3 separate regions of the Homo sapiens genome follow, and all the other regions are linked to region 1. Evidence: promoter capture Hi-C in human tissues and cell types (Jung and others, 2019). All regions are on one chromosome and are shown on one strand. The core of a region is centred on a gene start or on the middle of the fragment in contact, and the rest is flanking DNA. Distances in the headings are between cores, read along the strand shown.

Region 1 (3,552 bases), core at 843-3,342:
GCAAGGCTGGCCCTTGGCTGGCATCTGAAAGCTTGGATTTCAGGAGGGTTCTCATTACTCCCTAAATGATAAGAGTGGCTCACTGTGCCTAAACTGTTCGTACAAACAATGTGGGTTATGCCCAACATCTGCTTTCCTTCTGGGAGTCAGATTTTCATATGTGTTAGGCAGAGGATGAGGTGAGCAGCTCCCAATGAGAACCCTGAACACTGAGTCTGTAATGAGCTTCCCTTGTATACAACATTGCACATGGGTTGTCACAACTGATTGCTGGAGGAATTGTGTCCTATGTGACTCTGCTGGGAGAGGACTGTGGGAGGCTTACACCTGGTTTCCCTGGACTTTGTCCATGCGCTTTTTTCCTTTGCTGATTTTGCTTCCTAGCCTTTCGCTGTAGTAAAACATAGCCATGAGTATGACTACAGGCTGAGTCTGTGAATCTCCTAGTACATCATCAGACTAGGAGGTGGTGGTGTTGGCACCCCCCAGCACAGGGCACAAGGGAGACTTGCAGGGTGTTTGTCATGTTCCCTTTCTCAATCTGGGTGTGGTTTACAGATTTGTTCAGTTTGTGAAAATTCACTGAGCTCTATGAACAATTATAATATGTACATTTTTTTCTGTAAGTGTATTAAATTTCAATAAAAAGAATTCACACTATAGGGGTACAAAATAACTTAATTTTTCAAAGTCTTCCTTTTATTCAGCCAACATTTTAGTAAGTACCCTTTTTTTTTTACCAAGCACTGCTCTGGGAGCTTGGGACATGGGGTAGAAAGGACGGCATCATTGTCCTCATTGTCCTTCAGCTTAGCTGCAAGGCAGGTGAAGGATGCTTATAGTATGGTTGATTTTTGCTGGGCTCTATGAAGGATCAGAGGGTGCTAAGGAGGCACAGAGAAAGAGCTTTTAACGTGGGTATTTTACTGTTCCAGGGTTGCCACTCAAGTACCTACAGAACAAACGGGTGTAGCTGTAAACTGTGGCAAACTGAAAGCATGTAGGCACAGAGTAAGTAGCTAGAGCTGATTTTTTTCAGGAAAGGCCACAAATCCCAACTTTTATGAGCTCCTCTTTTAAATGCTGTAAATGTTTTACAATGGCGGGGCGCGGTGGCTCACGCCTGTAATCCCAGCATTTGGGAGGCCGAGGGGCAGATCACTTGAGGTCAGGAGTTCAAGACCAGCCTGGCCAACATGGTGAAACCTCTTCTCTACTAAAATTACAAAAATTAGCCGGGCATGGTGGTGCATGCTTGTAATTCCAGCTGCTAGGGAGGCCGAGGCGGGAGGATTGCTTGAACCCGGGAAGCAGAGGTTGCAGTGAGCTGAGATCGTGCCACTGCACTCCAGCCTGGGCGACAGAGCAAGATTCCGTCACACACACAAAAAAAAGGCGTGGGGGGAGGCCAAACAAAACCCCGCAAGACACATTTGGCTATGACCTGCCAGTTTGCTAGGCATTCTTCCAACCTTCCCTCCCTCTGACCAAGAAACTGAGTGTCCACTATTTTAGGCCCTGGGAAATTCAGTAGCGAGGAGGCCAGACAGCTTCGTTGCATCATGGGGGGCTCTGGTACTGTGCTTCTCCAACTTCAGGATGTGTAGGAATCACCTGAGCAGTCTTGTTGAGAGGCGGACACTGACTCGGGAGGTCTGGGGTAGGGCCTGAACGTTTGCCTTTGCGGTTCTAACAAGCTCTCAGGTGATGGCGATGCTACTGTTCCCTGGCCCCGAGGTAGAGGAAGATTTAAGTAAAAGCTTCCTGGAGGAGGCGCAAGTGAACCGCAGGAGCTTTCCCGGACGCCCGAGAAAGGGAGAAACCCCGAAGGAATTCCTCCTCTCTCGGGGCTGGGTCTCCGCATCCACGCCGGGTTTGGTTTCCCAGGCTATCCCACGTGTTCGGGCGTCCGTGTCAATCAGGTTTTCCCCGGCTGGGTCCGGGTTTAAAGGCTGCTGCTGCGCAGGGCGCTCCCATGGTGCCGCGCGGCGGGCGGGTTTGGATTTTAAATCCCCGCGGCCAATCAGTGGCGCGCAGGCTTTTGTAACGTTCCCAGCGCCGCGTTTGAATTCGGGGAGGAGCGGAGCGGTGCGGAGGCTCTGCTCGGATCGAGGTCTGCAGCGCAGCTTCGGGAGCATGAGTGCTGCAGTGACTGCAGGGAAGCTGGCACGGGCACCGGCCGACCCTGGGAAAGCCGGGGTCCCCGGAGTTGCAGCTCCCGGAGCTCCGGCGGCGGCTCCACCGGCGAAAGAGATCCCGGAGGTCCTAGTGGACCCACGCAGCCGGCGGCGCTATGTGCGGGGCCGCTTTTTGGGCAAGGGCGGCTTTGCCAAGTGCTTCGAGATCTCGGACGCGGACACCAAGGAGGTGTTCGCGGGCAAGATTGTGCCTAAGTCTCTGCTGCTCAAGCCGCACCAGAGGGAGAAGATGTCCATGGAAATATCCATTCACCGCAGCCTCGCCCACCAGCACGTCGTAGGATTCCACGGCTTTTTCGAGGACAACGACTTCGTGTTCGTGGTGTTGGAGCTCTGCCGCCGGAGGGTGAGTGTCGCTGCTGGGGAACTGGAACTGCCTGCGGGGCAGTTGGAGCGCCCAGACCTGGAGCTGCTGGAAAGAGTACCCAGCAAGGGAGAGCCTGGGACTTGGAGCTGCTAGAGAAGGGTGCTGGGAGCCTCCCGCTTACGTATGGAAAGTGTCTTTGGTAAGGGCTTCTTGGCTCTGGGAGCTGCTAGAGGAGGGGGTTCCAGTGAAGTGGAGTCTGAGTCATGTTGCTGATAGGGAAGTCAGCTTCTGGACGCGAGGTGCTGGGGGGAGGGGTGCTGGTAATGGACGCTAGGGCCCTGGAGTACCCAGGGAGGAGTCCCAGGTTAGTGATGCCGCGCCCTGGGAGCTTCTGGGGTGGAGCTGGGTCAGTGGGGGGGTAGTTGGAGCCAGACTTCGGGCCTTCCGGGGGAGATACGAGTCAGGAAAGGGATCTGGTGCTGGGGACTCGGAGCTTCCGGAGTGGGGCTGAGAGAGGACCCCCAGGTAAGGGGGGAAGCTAGTAGGAGAAGGGGTGCTGCGAATGGTTGTGGACAGTGTTAAGGCAGGGTCCAGATGCCGCTGTGCTGGAGAAGGAATGGGGTGGGGGCATAGGGAAGGAGAGAAACCCACCAAGACCCCTCTTTCATCCCTTGGGAGTCCAGAGTCCAGTCCTGTGCTTCCTTTGCCTGGTAACCCTCTCCCTTCCCCACCGGCCTCAATCCACCTCCCCATCCCTCCTGCCCTCTCCTTCCCACCCACAGTCTCTCCTGGAGCTGCACAAGAGGAGGAAAGCCCTGACTGAGCCTGAGGCCCGATACTACCTACGGCAAATTGTGCTTGGCTGCCAGTACCTGCACCGAAACCGAGTTATTCATCGAGACCTCAAGCTGGGCAACCTTTTCCTGAATGAAGATCTGGAGGTGAAAATAGGTGAGTTGCTGAGCCTGCAGGGGTGCTTGACATCACTACAAGAGGCTGGAATTTGGAGGAGGCTGGGAGAAAGGAAGGAGACAACCCACAAGTCAG
Region 2 (3,668 bases), core at 282-2,781, 1.1 Mb after region 1:
TCGCTTGTGCCCACACCTTTCTGTGCTCCTAAAAAATCTTGCCTCTTTTGCAAGAGCCAGATCAACTTCTTACTGCTCCATAAAGCCTTCCACAGTTGAAACAGCTCTTATACCTGTCTTACTTCACTAATCTTGTTTACAACCTGTACCAAATGTTTGCTTGTTTTCTTATTTCAGATGTGTTCAGTTGTTTCTACAAAATTGTAGGAATTTTTTTCCTATAAAAAAAATCATGTTTCCTAGCTGAGTGCAGTGGCTCACCCCTGTAATCCCAGTACTTTGGTAGGCCGAGGTAGGAGGATTGCTTGAGCCCAGGAGTTTGACACCAGCACCACCTCATTCCAGCTCGGGGCAACTGAGTGAGACTTCGTCTCTAAATAAATAAATAAGAAGTTTAGTGCTTGAGGTTTCTATTGGGAGCTGGTTCTGTACACTATGGAAATCTACTCCCCGCCCCACTTTAAAATTACTGTGTAGTATTCCTTGGTGTGATTACAGGATGATTTAACTTTTCCCTATTGATTGGTTTTTGGTTATGATTTTATGCTGCGGTGTCTATCTTTGTACGGTTCCTTTTTCAGAGGCTTAGATTTGAATTGATGGATCATAAGATAGTGACATTTAAAAATTCATTGTGAATAGATACTTCCAAATTGCTCACCAGAAGCTTAGTGCTAGTCCATACATACTTCTGATAGCAAGTACAAGAGTACCCTTCAGAAGGGATTAATTTTAATGATATTCAGGGCTGGGAATGTAGGAAAAATTGACCATCAAGTGTCAGGAGGCGCAAGAGTAGGAAGGGGCATTCTACCTCCAAGGTGTACCCTGCTCCCTTGATAGGCCCTTGAAATAGAGACAGACTCTCACTATGTTGCCCATTCTGTTCTCAAACTCCTGGCCTCCCAGACTCCTGGGATTACAGGCCTGAGCCACCATACCCGGCCAGAAACGCATTCTTGAACGGTACAAGTAAATCATTTGTAGTGGCTACTGGAAGATACGGGCAAAATTTGAAGCTTAGCTTGATTTGTTGTGTGGAATCCTAATCTTGATCTATTTGTTTTTTCAGATCGAGATATTGCATTTCCCCTAGTCAATGTATGAAACCAACTTTAAAATACAATTTACATACAGTAAAATTCAAACATTGAGTGTGTAGGTGAATGATTTGACAAATGTATACACCCTTGTAATTATCACTCCAATCAAGTTAGAAAACATTTCCATTTTCCTAGAAAGTTCCCTCAGTGGCATTGACTTTTACAGGCCACCTCAAAGCCTTTATACATGAGATGCAGGACATAAGTCAAGTTCTGATAAAAGGGGAGTCTGGTTTTTACAGACAACGAGGTAGATTCATAGAACTTACAGATGTGAGGTATCCTGCAAAGTAGCCTTCAGGGCATGGATGATTGCTAACTGGAGTGTTGTCTTGGTGGCAGGTGCATCAAACAGGGTGGCCCACTTAGGCCTTTCAAATCCATCAGTCCTTGCTCCTCTTGATAGTTGTGGTAAATGATATAGTCAGATGTCTTAAGTGAGTCTCTATGAACATTTAACTCCTGGAAGCTGACGTGTTTGGGCACAGGTGTTGTTGTTGTTTTTCCAGTTGGCTTTCTCTGAAGGAGGAGATATGGGAAAAAGCATGACTGGTTGGCTGTGATGATAGTGTTGAAGAACAAAACTTACTCCCCTCTGTGCTTACAGTATCGGCTGATACTGTGATATTTCCTTGAGAAGAAATGTCTGGTACATCTTTTAAGTACTAAAGGGGATATTTTTGGCCAGGAAAACACTTGCTAGTAACCTCATCAGAAAGTCTTGAAAATGAAGTTTGAGAAAGGAGAAAATACTCCAGATAGAGACCATTACATGGAGTAAAATTATAGTGACATAGAAGATCAGAAAAGGACATGTCTGTAATTCACAGCAGAACATGAAGAACAAATGCTGAAGGTGCTAGATGTTTCTGAATAAGTACCTGTGCTATTTTGACACAAGAAGGGTAAAGACAGCCTTTTGGGTGCCACTGAGGACTGGTGAGTTGGATTCATGGCTAGGCAATTGAGTGCTTACTAGATAAGCTTTGTGCTAAGTAAGCAGTCCTAATTCTTATAAAAATATTAAGACATTGACATGTATGGTCATTTGCCCCCAGTTTTTTCATGAAGAAACAGAGGCTGAAGAAGATTAAGTATTTTTAACTAGTAATCAGCTTTTAATCTTGACTTCTGCATGTCTCAGGGTAGGTAACATGACAGTGGTGTAACCTAGTTGCCGTTGTTTACTGATTTTACTCTGCTGCTCTCATATGCTGTGGCTTTCTTGCTCCTTGACTTCCCTGGGATTGTAGTGTGAGTGAGCTTGTTCAGTCTTACTACCTCCTGCACACAGAATTCAAAAGAGAGTGAGTCATGGCCACAGTTGGCAGGAATCTGTTATGTTACTCCATTAGCCACATGACACTTCTGCTTGTAACAAAATGACAGCGAAGTATAGCAACAGTTATCATACTCTTCTTCCAGTTATCCTTTTAGCTGATTTTAGTAGTCCTATACTTTACTAAGTTTTTATCAATTGTGCATAATGTCATTCATTTCATTTTTCGGTGTCTGCATCTCCTCTCAGTCTGTTCCATCAGCAAAGCCAACTTAAATTTTGTTTAATCTCATTGCAGCGCACCTATAGCAACAACCCCTTCCAGTTTCTTAGGCACTTGTCTTTCTCCTTTTATCTTCTTCAACATCCCTACTGCCATATGCATTCCAGCCTTGATAAATAATGTGCAGCTTCCAAAATGTCTAGTTCATATCTCCAAATCTCTCTTTTTCTGCCTGATATTCCTTTTTTTTGAAACAGAGTCTTGCTCTGTCGCCCAGGCTGGAATGCAGTGGTGCCATCTCAGCTCACTGCAAGCTCCACCTCCCAGTTTCACGCCATTCTCCTGCCTCAGCCTCCCGAGTAGCTGGGACTACAGGTGCCCGCCACCACGCCCCTGCCTGATATTCTTAGTGTCCCCTCTGGAAAGCTTCCTCAGGGCAGAGTTAGGTATTTTCATTTTGTGTGATGCTTTTCTTTGGGTAACTGGTTATTTTGGTTGTTGGTATTATGAATGAAGGTTTAGGGTCTAGACTTTAGGGTGATGACTACAGGTAGCCGGAGTGAGTTTCTTCCGCCTTTGCAAAGGTTTTTTTTGCCCAGTAGACTCCTTCCCTGAATGGGAAGGCTGATCTGTGTGAAGGGTGTTGATTGGCAAGCTTTACTTTACAGTGTGATGGAGGGAGTGGCAGCAGCCTCCAGTAAGATGGGCTTTGTTCTGGGACAACCAAACCCATTCAAGCACCTATCAGACTCCTGTGGAAGGTTTTGTTTCTTTAGAGAGTATTTCTTTGGCTTGAGGCTGCATTTAGAAGCAGCTACTATCTGTGGCTGTGTAGGCATCTGGATGGGAAGTGGGTGGGGTTGAGTAGCTATGGCTTTTCTATTCCTTAGGCAGTCTTTTTGCTTCATGCTCTCTTGCTCTGGTCTTCTGGAACCCTCTCTAGAGCTCCACCAGAAAGGATGGTGCCTAAAACATCTATTTCAGACTGCTCTTATGTTTATTCTTGGGTGGGGTGGCTTTTGCTTTTGCTTATTCATTTGCTTTGAATAGAATAAAAAAGTAA
Region 3 (3,581 bases), core at 526-3,025, 1.5 Mb after region 1:
GCTGGGTCAGGACCGAGCAGGCAGCTCTGCTGTCCACGAGGAACTGTTTTCCTACCTGCCACATCAAGGGTGACCTGAGGCTCCGTGGTGTGATGACGATGGAGTGTGCTGCAGTCAGAGCCAGGGTGCTGTCAGGCGGTGTGTATCAATCTCATCTGAAAGCTTGGTGAGGAGTGGCGGCTGGCCAGGGTTGCCTGCCGGCTGTCCTGTTTTAAGGAGGTCAGGGCAGCCTCTCTTCCAGTGACCCCCTCCATCCTGCAGTAGGCACATTGGCTCCATCCAAGGTTGGCTGTCTTCGATTAGTTGGTCTCCTGAGAATCCTAGGGTCACCCTGAGATGGTGGATGAATTAGGGCAGCCAGAAGCTGTGCTGTCTTGGTCAGTCTCCTCTTCTTACCTGCCATCTGTGTCCTGTCCGTTATTGAAAACCTTAAAAGCCGCCTCTGCCAAAGTCAACAGCAGGGTCTGGGGTCTGGCCTCCAAATTTTCTGTAATTTCCTTCTAATGTCCGGAGCTGACTGAAGGATAAAATGCATGGCACGCGATGCTTCCCCTCTGCTGCCTCTGGGTCTGCATGGGTGCATTTCCCAAGGGCCTCAGGGACTCGATTGAGGAAGACTACTGGGATCTCCTTCTTTCTCTGGGTAATTTTCTTGACCCTGTCATAGTGTACAGGTTTTACTATACATTTCCTTCTTCCTTCAGTCAGGCAGGTGACAAAGTGGCTCATTCTAGCTTTTTCTAGGTTTTCTCCATAGTCTCACTCACGTGGAGACTATGCCTGGGACCGCATCTCCCCCTAAACAGATGACTGCATATTGGTCTTTAGTGACCACCTGGCTATTGGCATATTCCTTAGCCTTTCCAAATATGTGTTGCTTTTCATCAGTACTGCAAAGTGACCATAACATCCTGCCACGTCAATGAAAAGGCAAGATTTAGTTTAACAAATTCATCTCTAAACTTACCAGGATCCTCTGAAAATCTACCAAAGTGTTTTTTACATAGTCCTAGATCCACCACCAAAAAAAGGAACTTGGATCCTTGTCACTCCCCCGTTTCCATCCATTTCTCTGAGGGGAAAACAGCCCTGGGCCAGTGGGGAAGCAAAAGAGGGTGCCTGTTTGGAGTCCGATTGGAGCGCTGTTGGGGACAGCACAGGGGCTCCCCTCCCCAGGAGGCCTGCTTAGGGTAGGGAGGGAGTGCTCGGGGCCTGAGGCTGTGGAGGTCCGCTTCTTCAGGTTCCTTCAGGAGGAACCTGGAAATAGGGGCCACACACACCTGACAAGAATCCAGTAGCTCTGGGTCCTAGCATAACTTCATAAAAGCTTGTAGCTAGGTATCTCTCCCCATTTCTCTGTCCATTCACAGAATAGGTCGGGCGGTAAGATAGTGTTAAAACTAGGAGATCCACTTCTGCCCATGGCCATTTTTCTTGATCTAATGTGTACTAGGGCAGGTTGTATTACAGAGGAAAATCAGTTTCTTTTTTTTTAATTAAAAAAAAAATTTGATTTTGAGGCAGGGTCTCACTCCATTGCCCAGGTTGGAGTGCTATGGTATTACCACAACTCACTGCAGCCTCAACCTCCTGGACTTAAGCGATCCTCACTTTAGCCTTCTGAGTAGCTGAGACCCCAGGAAGGCACCCCCACACCCGGCTCATTTTTCCTGTTTTTTGTAGAGGTGGAGTCTTCCTATGTTTCCCAGGCTGGAGTTTCTTTTTCTTTAAACCATCTGATTTGGATTCCTTCCATTTAGAAATGATACATCCCAGGTGTGAGTCTTGGAAGATGCCTGGGGCATTGCCCATGACTGTAGCCCCTGTGTCTGCTTGTCTTATTAAAGGACCAGGGGCAGGGTGCAAGCACAGGTGTCAGGCGACGAAAAGAGAGTTGGCTCCCAGCCCCACACAGCACAACAGTACAGGTCACACAAGAGGGCCGGCGTGAGCAGTGAAGAGAACTCCCCAAAACCGAGTGCCAGCTTGGATGGTTTCTTTTTCTTCTTCAGCCTTACAGCAGGTCCAGGTTCTACTGACCAGTGTCCTGCATTTGGTAGTAACCGAATGACAGTCAATAAGATGTTGAATTAAACATACAAAAAGGAAAAACAGATCAGGGCATGAGCTAGGCAAACTCCAGCCCCATGTGCCGTCAATTCTCCCCGCATAAAGGCAGCACCCAGAGTCCGTAGGCTCAAACACTGAACAGACAGAGAAAAGCTCACAGGCTTCCCTTCCCAACAGGTGTGGCAAAGGGAGGGAAAGCACTGAAAGACTTGAAGATTGTCAACTATTGGGTCTGAAGCCAGGGCACCCAGTAGTTCCTTCCAGCCGTGTCAGTCCGTCCTGCACGGGTGTCTGTTCAGTTCGAGCCAATGAAGTTAAAAGTGAAGGAAGGAAAGCAGAAAGGAAGAAGGAAAAAGACAACAAATAGGGGACGCGAGGGAAGGGAAAACATTGTCTGGGGCAGGAGTGGTGAGGAGTCTTGCAGAGACCAGAGGAAAACTTACCAGTCGCGAGACTAGAGGAAAACTCGCCAGTCGCGGTGGCAGCGCTGAATCAGTGGGGCCTCCCTCCGGCTCGCAGGCTCACAAGCCTCCCCTGCAGGGAGGGAAATTACTCCTTGTGCTCCTACCTGGCTCACCAGATAATCTGTTATGGCACCAAGCAGATTTTCCAGACAAGGCTTTTAGTTGGGGGCTTGTGCTTGAGCGCACGGGGAGACGGCAGAGACTCTGCGGCTGGCTCTCTGGAAGAGCCGGGAGAGACGTTTTATTAGCAAAGCCTGGTAACTGACATCGGGAGAGGGCATGTAGGCTGAGCTGGGCAAAGCATGTGAGGGGTAGGGAATGCGGGTCAGCATATCTAGTGGCTGATGGTTATCTTGGTTAATGGACCACCTGGTGGGCTGGCCAGAGGCAACAAGGCTGTAATCAAGCTTGTTCAACCCCAGGCCTGCGGGCGGGGCGACATGCAGCCCAGGACTGCTTTGAATGTGGCCCAACACAAATTCGTAACATTTCTTAAAACATGAGATTCTTTTGTGACTTATTTTTTTTAAAGCTCATCAGCTATTGTTAGTGTATTTTGTGTGGCCCAAGACAGTTCTTCAGTGTGGTCCAGGGAAGCCAAAAGATTGGACACCCCTGCTGTAAATCAGTTGTTCAGTGTTCCTTCCTGGGATGAGACACTCCACCACCTTGGTTTGATATTTAGATTTCCTAAGGCTAGTTCCTGGGATTCTTTAAGTAGAAGGTCTGGTTAAACATGAAGAAGGAGCCGTATCCCATTCCTGTTCTTTTTCATTATGACTCTCCATCCATTAATGTAGTTGCCTGGAACATTTAAAAAGTGACCCCATATTTTCATAATCTGAATTTTTATGTCTTTTGTTTACTACTTTATTCCGAGGGCATGTAGAAAGTTACCTGGCCTTGCCCAGGCACAGTGGCTTATGCCTGTAATCCCAGCACTTTGGAAGGCCAAGGCTGGTGGATTGCTTGAGCCCAGGAGTTCGAGACCAGCCCAGGCAACATGGTGAAACCTCGTCTCTACTAAAAATACAAAAATTAGCTAGG

What was found. Contacts are between HindIII fragments. The study calls those that stand out against the background at their distance.
Region 2: a fragment that was not itself captured here is called in contact with the fragment with the promoter of PLK1 in region 1 in 1 of the 25 tissues and cell types used here (dorsolateral prefrontal cortex).
Region 3: a fragment that was not itself captured here is called in contact with the fragment with the promoter of PLK1 in region 1 in 1 of the 25 tissues and cell types used here (lymphoblastoid cells).

The regions. Positions count from the first base shown.
Region 1 is chr16:23,676,797-23,680,348 of GRCh38, forward strand. It overlaps PLK1 (polo like kinase 1), which reads left to right and starts at 2,093. Exons shown (of 10, transcript NM_005030.6): 1 at 2,093-2,544; 2 at 3,288-3,456. The coding sequence starts at 2,137. It overlaps DCTN5 (dynactin subunit 5), which reads left to right. Exons shown (of 6, transcript NM_032486.4): 6 at 1-676. The HindIII fragment of the contact is 4,791 bases long and covers 1-2,729 here.
Region 2 is chr16:24,746,038-24,749,705 of GRCh38, forward strand. All of the region lies in intron 2 of TNRC6A (trinucleotide repeat containing adaptor 6A), which reads left to right. Among named protein-coding and RNA genes, the nearest start is that of TNRC6A, 18 kb to the left of the region's middle. The HindIII fragment of the contact is 3,228 bases long and covers 1-3,145 here.
Region 3 is chr16:25,146,193-25,149,773 of GRCh38, forward strand. The region is part of intron 4 of LCMT1 (leucine carboxyl methyltransferase 1); the gene reads left to right. It overlaps LCMT1-AS2 (LCMT1 antisense RNA 2), which reads right to left and starts at 2,840. Exons shown (of 3, transcript NR_039998.1): 1 at 2,514-2,840; 2 at 56-2,047. The HindIII fragment of the contact is 4,005 bases long and covers 1-3,581 here.